2 separate regions of the Homo sapiens genome follow, and region 1 is linked to region 2. The links are contacts of gene promoters, found by promoter capture Hi-C in human tissues and cell types (Jung and others, 2019). All regions are on one chromosome and are shown on one strand. Each heading gives the region's core, a stretch centred on a gene start or on the middle of the fragment in contact. The rest is flanking DNA. Distances are from core to core; before and after follow the strand shown. Region 1 overlaps CCDC192 (coiled-coil domain containing 192). Region 2 holds the start of SLC12A2 (solute carrier family 12 member 2).

The links. The method cuts DNA at HindIII sites, captures the fragments that hold promoters and counts their contacts. A contact is called where the count stands out against the background at its distance.
Region 1: a contact is called between a fragment that was not itself captured here and the fragment with the promoter of SLC12A2 in region 2, in 2 of the 25 tissues and cell types used here (IMR-90 fibroblasts and hippocampus).

The regions. Positions count from the first base shown.
Region 1 is chr5:127,814,863-127,819,108 of GRCh38, reverse strand. The region is part of intron 5 of CCDC192 (coiled-coil domain containing 192); the gene reads right to left. Among named protein-coding and RNA genes, the nearest start is that of CCDC192, 110 kb to the right of the region's middle. The HindIII fragment of the contact is 4,888 bases long and covers 1-4,246 here.
Region 2 is chr5:128,082,071-128,085,939 of GRCh38, reverse strand. SLC12A2 (solute carrier family 12 member 2) reads right to left here and starts at 2,174. Exons shown (of 27, transcript NM_001046.3): 1 at 1,230-2,174. The coding sequence starts at 1,985. It overlaps SLC12A2-DT (SLC12A2 divergent transcript), which reads left to right and starts at 2,765. Exons shown (of 4, transcript NR_152813.1): 1 at 2,765-2,970. RefSeq lists an enhancer at 1,021-1,190 and a silencer at 1,681-2,510. The HindIII fragment of the contact is 27,841 bases long and covers 1-3,869 here.

The DNA of each region.
Region 1 (4,246 bases), core at 864-3,363, 270 kb after region 2:
GATATGGGTAGACATGTATGAAACAGTTTACAAATAATGAAAGCTAGGATCCCTTTCAACAGTTAATAATCTCACAGGAAGAGCCCAGCACTGCTAGGTTTTCTTTTTCTACTATGAATCCATTATGTGGGGTATTAAGGAGTTGTTGCCTTTCCTCAAATGAAACAAAGCAAGAAGATGTCATGACCTGAAAGTCCCAGCATTGCCAACTCAAGTTGGTTTCTGAGGAAACTTCCAATGGCTGTAGCCAGCTATAAAATATGTGACATGCCTTTTGGGATTTTCCTTACCAGTCCTTTCCCCTAGCTAACATCCAGGCTCTTTCAACTCTCCTTGCCTTTGTACAGGCTACTTCCTCTGCCTAGATCACTCCCACCCCCATCTTCCCTTGGACAGTTCCTCTCCCTAATTTAATACTCAGCTCAGGTATCACTGGCATACCTGATGGCTTCTTGGAGCAGTCTCCAGCTCCACCCTGGGTTAGGGATGGTTCCTCTGAATTCTCATAGTAATTTTTGACAGCCACGATCATTCCACTTGTCATAATGTGCTATAAGACCTATGTATGGGGTCTCTATGTAATCTCTTCTTGATAGCAGTAATTCCAAACTTTGGTTGCACATTAGAATGACTTGAGGAAATGTTAAAAGTCCCCATGTCTTGTTTGTACTCCAAATCAATAGAATTTTGGATGTCTAGGAGTAGAACCCAGGATTCGTTTTTTAAAAAAAATGTTTCCCAGTTGACTTCAATGGTGGCCAAGGTTGAAAACCTCTGCATTAGATGACAAAGTCCTAGAGACTCAGTCTTTAGTATGTCAACCCAATGCATAAGACTGATGTTAAAATTTTGCTAAATTAATGGATTTATATATTCAAATTCAAGTATTTTAGACTCTTATCAAGTGACATTAAGAGGTAGCAATTTATTTATTCCAGAGTGCAAGCAGGTTATAAGCAAAAAAATATGTAAATATCATGTTGATTAAAAATCACTACGCCCATTGATTTTAGAGCAGTGATTTGGGAAAAAGCTATGCTGGGTTTTTTCATATACTTTATTCTGAAGACTCTTCTGATAGTAATTTGTACTATTTTTACGGATATTTTCTAAAGCAAGGTCATGAACTTTGAAGAATTGTGGATTTGTATGACTACTTCTACAATGTCATAGCTTAGGAGATTTACACATGTAAGGACTAGATGCAATGTTTCTAAAAGCGTGGTTCAGAGATCAGCTGCATCCAAATAAAAATACATGTTTCCAGCCCTCATCCTAGATATGCATTTAGATTCTTTGGGAAATAATTCAAGAATCTGTTTTCATTTTTATTTTTTATTGAGATATAGCAGTCATCCTTTTAAAGTGTACAATTCAGCAATATTAGTATATTCACAAAGTTGTGCAACTATCACTACGGAGTCCAGAACATTTCATAAATACAAAAATAAATTCATATCCATTAGCAGTCACTCCCTCACTCCTTATCCATCTCACCCCCTCAGGCCAATGGCAACCAGTACCTATTCTGGACATTTTCAATCAATGGAATCTTACAATATGTGGAGTTTTGTTTTTGGCTTCTTTCACTTAACACAGTATTTTCAATGTTTGTCCATGTTGTAGTATGAACCAGAATTCCTTTTTATGGATAAATAATATTCCATTAGTTGAATATTTTACATTTTGTTTATCCATTCATCAATTGCTGGACATTTGAGTTGTTACCAGTTTTTTGCTATTGTAAATAATGTTGCCATGAACATTTTTGTGCAAGCTTTTGTGTGGACATATTTCCATTCTCTGCAGTATATACCTAGGAACAGAACTGCTGGGTCATATTTTAACTCTTCTACCTGTATTTTAAATAGGGCTTTCAGGTGAACCTAAGACTCACTAAATTTGAGAATCACTTTATTAGGGTGTCACTATTTCCTCCAAGGCACTGTACCTGTAAGCCACCAACTGCCAACAGGTGTGACATTGCACCCGGTAATAGGTGGAAAAGAAAGACTATCACAGCATCCAATCAATTATGATTCATAAGAAAAATGTTAACAATATGAATAACTAATAATATCACATTATCACCTTTGTTTGACAAATTTAAATCCAGATATATTGAAGGACAAGGTTTAAAGAAACAAATAGCATGGAATAAGTCAATCATTAAGAACTCTAATATTTTTCCAGCCTACAGTTGAACTTGCCTTGATTTTCTTTTATCTGAGACCCACAAACTTACTGGGTGTGATGGAACTATAGCATTCTTTTTGCCTGCCAACCATCTTTGAACACTTTTCCTAAGCTTGGTTATTTCCCCACCTTGAGACCTCACTTTCTCAAAGCAGAAGCCTCCCTCGCATCCTCAGTGCAAGGCTTGAAACATTTATGCCAGAATTCAGATAAGAATAGCTGCTATGTGCCCTCTGTTCACAGCAGAAACACCCTGTTTAGAAGCAAAAGTTCTAGTGGAGGCTTCCAGTGCACAGAGCCAGAGGTACCAGCTAGAACTATACAGCAGTGGGAAGCTACCTGGGGAAGTTCTGTGGTGTGATTTGACCATTGTTTCAGCTTCCATTTCCAAATCTGGTTCTCTGGCTCTCCTGGAGAGTGAGAGTTAGCCATGGCCTTCACTTAATACCTATTCTGCTTAAACTGGTATTTCTGTAAAACAAGAACATGACTGATATCACAGGACTCTACCTTAGAAGCCCCACTAAAGCTAAACTAAGTACAAGCTTATCCCAAATTTGCTTATTAGCTTTAGGGTCCTAGCAAATCTCTGTCTGCCTCCTTTGCAGAAAATCCCCCCTTTTCATGGTTCAATGAGCAAATTCCCTCTAAAAAGCTTTACTGATGCAATTTGAACCCTTTGTAATGTTTAATGCTAATTATAAAATATTTATCCACACAACAGTATGTTGATTTCTAAGTCACTCTCTCCAGAACACTAACTCCAAATCATGATTTCTTTGCCAAGTCCATCATAAGCCCCTCCCCTCCTCATTACTTTTCTCTAACACATATTAATGTATCTCAACTTCTTTAAAGTACATTGTCTAATAGCTTTATCTAACCAATGATGGATGAAACCTTTTAGAGACAAAATATGTGATTTTTGTACTTTTTATATACATACTGTATATTTAATAACACCTGATCCCAAATATAATCAGTCATGGATTTTGACAAATTCTCTTTCTTGTACATCTCTCTCTTTTATTTTTATTTTTTTTTTCAGACAGAGTCTCGCTCTGTTGCCCAGGCTGGAGTGCAATGGTGCAACCTACTCTCACTGCAAGCTCCGCCTCCCAGGTTCATGCCATTCTCCTGCCTCAGCCTCCTGAGGAGCTGGGACTACAGGTGCCCGCCACCATGCCTGGCTAATTTTTTTGTATTTTTAGTAGAGACGGGATTTCACTTGTTAGCCAGGATGGTTTTGATCTCCTGACCTCGTGACCCACCCGTCTCAGCCTCCCAAAGTGCTGGGATTACAGGTGTGAGCCGCCATAGCCAGCCCATACATCTCTCTTTAAAGAAACTCCTTAGACTCCTGTGGGCAATCTGGAAGGCTTAGAGAAGATTGTTTCTGTGAAGCTGAAGGTAGATTCCATGCAGGAACTCTGTGAATTTATAGAAATCATGTAAAACCTGATTTTCCCCACCCCCTATCATCCCCAAATGTGCCAATGGACAGACCCAGCCTCAAGATTCCAGGTTTTCAGTCTCTTTGATCACTTGCTCCTAAATGAAATCCAGCAAGAGAGAGGAAGAATTTTACTTGCTGTTCTGACGTTTCACCATCTTCCTCAGATTTAGTTTGCTCTGCTATGCGGGAGTCAACAGAAAATGGCACACAAATATCCATCGACTCTTTCTAAAATATGTTAAAGTTGATGTGTACAATAGCTCCCAGGTCACACAGTCTATTAATACACCACACAGATCTGAAAATATGCCCATGAACCTACAGTTTCAGATAGAGAAACACCAGCCTAGAGTCTTACTACTGAGCATTTTTAAGGCTACACATGGTCATTGCTGAAAGAGAGAGATCCTTCTGTCATAATATTTATTCATGAGAGGTGCAAAGAATTATATTTTGAGGCCAGAAATTTTCCCAACACATACTGTCTTGAAAATAAAAATAAAAAAAACCCATCAGAGAAAACTAATTAAAAAATATTTTTAAAAATTCGCCATACTGAAGATGTTGAAAACAACTGTTTACCCTCAACAATGT
Region 2 (3,869 bases), core at 925-3,424:
TGATTATGACAAAATACCACAATGGAATAACAAGAATAGTATTATCTAAAGCTAAATGATCTCAGGCTTTTAAACAATCAATAAGCTGTAAGAGCTCTGTAATTACCTCTGTGTGAATGTTACATTATCAAACACTGGGACAAGTACAATCTTGTATGAAATCACTGTATGAGATCAAATAATCATATCCAAAAGAAATCACATACTGGATTTAAACTTGTCCAAACTGTGATCATTTCAACCTATGTGGTACCATCCTCTTGCGTTCACAAATTCCATCAATGTAGTCATTACACACTTGTAAAGGAAGACTTCAAGTAATCCCGGCTCATAAAAAAGTTAAACATTAACGAAATCTCAAAAGCATCAATGTTATCTCAAAACAGTGACATTGAACGCTGAAGAAATAAGTCTTATGTGACCATAAAAAATAGTTACAAAAATCAATGAGTTTATGGGGATGGTTTTCTGTTTACAAAGTGTAACTGCTTATGGCAAAGACCCCACAGGTCTTTCTGGTCATCCTCTACAGAAAAACCAATTCTCCTGTTTCCCTTTTTTCTTTAAAGACTCGCCTCTGTCCCTTTTTTTTTAAATATACACCTCTCCCAAAACGTTTTCATCGCAAAAAAAAAGAGTTATGCCATTATTAGGAACAGCGTGTCCCAAGACAAGATCTCTATGATCCTTTGTATATTCAAGATTGCAAGAATTGAGCTTTAATAACTCATAGACCATAAACACACCCTGTTAAGGTTTTCCTTCAAACAGCAACATTCCCACTCTTGCGATCCCTAATAGGCGTACATAAGCCACACAACACAATCTTTCAAAACGACACAGATGGTAGGTGCTCTCCAACCTCTCTCGAGAGATCCTCACTGCACATTCTCCTCTAAAGGGCCCACAAACACTACTGTCATTCAGAGGGATGGTGACTGTTGAGCGTGGGTGGGAAAGAAAGTGCACACGAGATACCTAACTGGATGGGGAAGGTTGTTAGAGGCAGCCCTCCGGTATCACGTAACTAGCCAAACCCGCTACAAACTTTTGAGAGATTAAGTTAACATTCCTCGGCAATTCCACCCTTGACAGCTGAATCCAGAGATGCCAGCAAGTCGTGCACGTCTACTACTCCCGCCACCTCAACTCGGGAAGAGTCTGCAGCCACATCCCGCGGTCGGCATGCACCAGGGGCTGGGGAAGAAGGGAGGGCTGGGCGAGCTCACCTTTTCCAGCTCGTCGTGGAGCTCCGCCAGGCTAGGCCGGAGCAGCTTCTCGCCCAGCTGCGCGGCTGTGTGCCGGTAGTGATCGATCCTGGGCACAGCGTCCATGGTGTTGTGGCCGAAGGTGCGCAGGTAGTAGGTGTTGGTGTGGGTATCATAATAGTAGTGCTGGTGGTGCCCACTGCCGCCGCCGCCGCCGGAGTGCAGGCTGCTGCCCTCGCTCAGCACCGTGTCCCCGCCGTTCTGGAAGCTCACGTTGGGCCCGTCGACTCCGACCCCGGCAGCATCTGACAGGCTGTCTTCAGCCGACGAGGAGGCAGCTGGGTCCACGAAGTTCACGCGGAAGCGGCCCTTGGCTTCCTCGCTGCCTTTAGCCGGCTCGCTCTCGCCGCTGGCTTCCCCGTCCGCGGGGGTCTGCTTGGCCCCCGCCCCAGCACCAGCCGCCGCCGCTGCCGCCGCCGCCGCCGCCGCCGCAGCAGCGGCCCGCCCGGCGTTCTCGGAAACCAGGTCCACCTGGAAACGGCTCTGGCTCGGGGTGGGCCCCAAGGGTCTGCCCAGCCCGTCCCCGGCCGCCGCGGGGCCCTCATCGCGGACCCCGCCGCCGTCCCGGCTCGCGGGCGCAGCATCCTCCGGCACCGAGGGCACAGCCGTGCCGGGCAGTTCCACCCTGGCTGCGGCCAGCGCAGCGGCTGACGGCGTCTCCCCGACCCCGGCCAGTCCCGGGGCGCCGGAGGAGGGCGCCGTGGGCCGCGGCTCCATAGCTGCCCGACCCCCGGCGGAACTGCAGAGCCCGGCGGACGTCTCCGGCAGCACGCCCTCCACACCCCTGGCCGGCGGTGGCCACAGCCGCAAGACCAGGTGAGAGAGTCTTTCTCCCCGCCGCCTGCGGGCCGCCGCTAGCCTGGACGGCCACAGAGGCCACCGGCAGCCGAGCGAGCGCGCGAGTGTGGCGGGCGCGGGGCGGGCCCCGCTGTTTAAAGCCTCGGCGGGGCTGCGGCGGCGGCGGCTCCGGCAGCAGCACGCGGGAGGCGGGGCCGGAGGCTCCTCCGCCCCTCAGCCCGCCCACCCGCGGTCCCGCAGCGGCGCGCGGCTGACGCTCCCTCAGCGATCCGGCCCTCCGCGGCTCCTGCGCGACCCCACGCAAAAGCGCCCCGTGCGAAGAGCGCGGCCAGCCAGTCCGCAAAGGGCCTCGGGCAGTGCGGGCAGCACGAACGGCGCGATCGGGGAGCAGGCGCGGCTACGCTCCGCCTCAGTGATGTCGCCGGGAGGATCTCCGCGCGGCTACCTCCTCTTCCGCCGCCTTCCTCCCACGCCTTCACCTCCCTCCCCCGCCGCGCTCTGCGGCGAAAAGGAGCGGGCTCCCAGGCCACCTCCCCTCTCTCCACCCAGGGGCCGCGCGTCAGTGGACCTGCAGCCCAGGCAACGGGGCTGCGGACGGCGCGCGTGCCCTGCCTCGCCTCACGCCGGTAGCTGATGCTCCCGCGGCAGCTGCCACCCCAGCGCCCCAGCCACGGCTTCAGAGGCTCTCGCACGCTGGCTTTTTTTTTTTCCCCCCGCTTTGGTGAACTCGCAGTACTTGGGCTGAGCCCGAAATCTCGCGAGATGCTGCAGGCGTCAGTGCGGCTTCCCACTAGGCGCGTGGTACCCGAGGCCGGGCCGGAGCCGCAGGCCAGCCGCGATTCCTTCGGGCGATGCTGGGGGCTTTCCGGTCGGGGCCGCAGCCGCTTCCGGAGCCGCGGGCGAGGTGCGTTCCCCAGCCTGGTTTGCTCTGGGCTCTGACCCGCCGCCGCGAATCTCCGCTCGTAACTCCGGGCCTGAACCTGGAGGAGGGAGGATTTCCTCTGTGCAGCTTTCGAGCGGTAGACTCACCCTGCCAGGCAGACCTAGATTGGCATAACCAGAGATCAGTTCCAGTTGTGATGCAGTGGGTGTCTACACACTTCTGATGACACCTTTATTTTAAAAGCTGATGTTCCAAGGTGAGAAGGGAGCTTCTTTGAGACGTCATGTTGTTTCAAGACGAGTTTTAATTTAAGGCATTTCCAAAAGTGATATGCAGCTCATCTCTCAGAATACAATGCCGGCAATAACTACCCGTGGAGTCCTTACCAGGAGGTTTCTGCGTGATTTGGGTTGTGCAGAATTCCTCTGCTTATATAGAAACAGAAAGGTACTCCTCTGCAGGTCTAGTTTCTCTTCGGTAAAATGTAAGGGAATATAACTGTGTTCCCACTTTCTTAGCAGCAGAAATTTTTAAACCTATAGATTATGCCCAAAGTCCTAAGTAAAATCAATGAATGGCGTCCTCCAATTACTTGGTTTTTATTTATGTACTTTTTTTTTTTTTTTTTGAGACGGAGTCTCGCTCTGTCGCCCAAGCTGTAGTGCAGGGGTGCGATCTTGGCTCACTGCAAACTCCGCCTCCTGGGTTCACGCCATTCTCCTCCTGCCTCAGCCTCCTGAGTAGTTGGGACTACAGGCGCCCGCCATCACGCCCTGCTAATTTTTTGTATTTTTAGTAGAGTCGGGGTTTCACCGTGTTAGCCAGGATGGTCTCGATCTCCTGACCTCGTGATCCGCCCACCTCCGCCTCTCCAAGTGCTGGGATTACAGGCATGAGCCACCGCGCCCGGCCCTTGTATT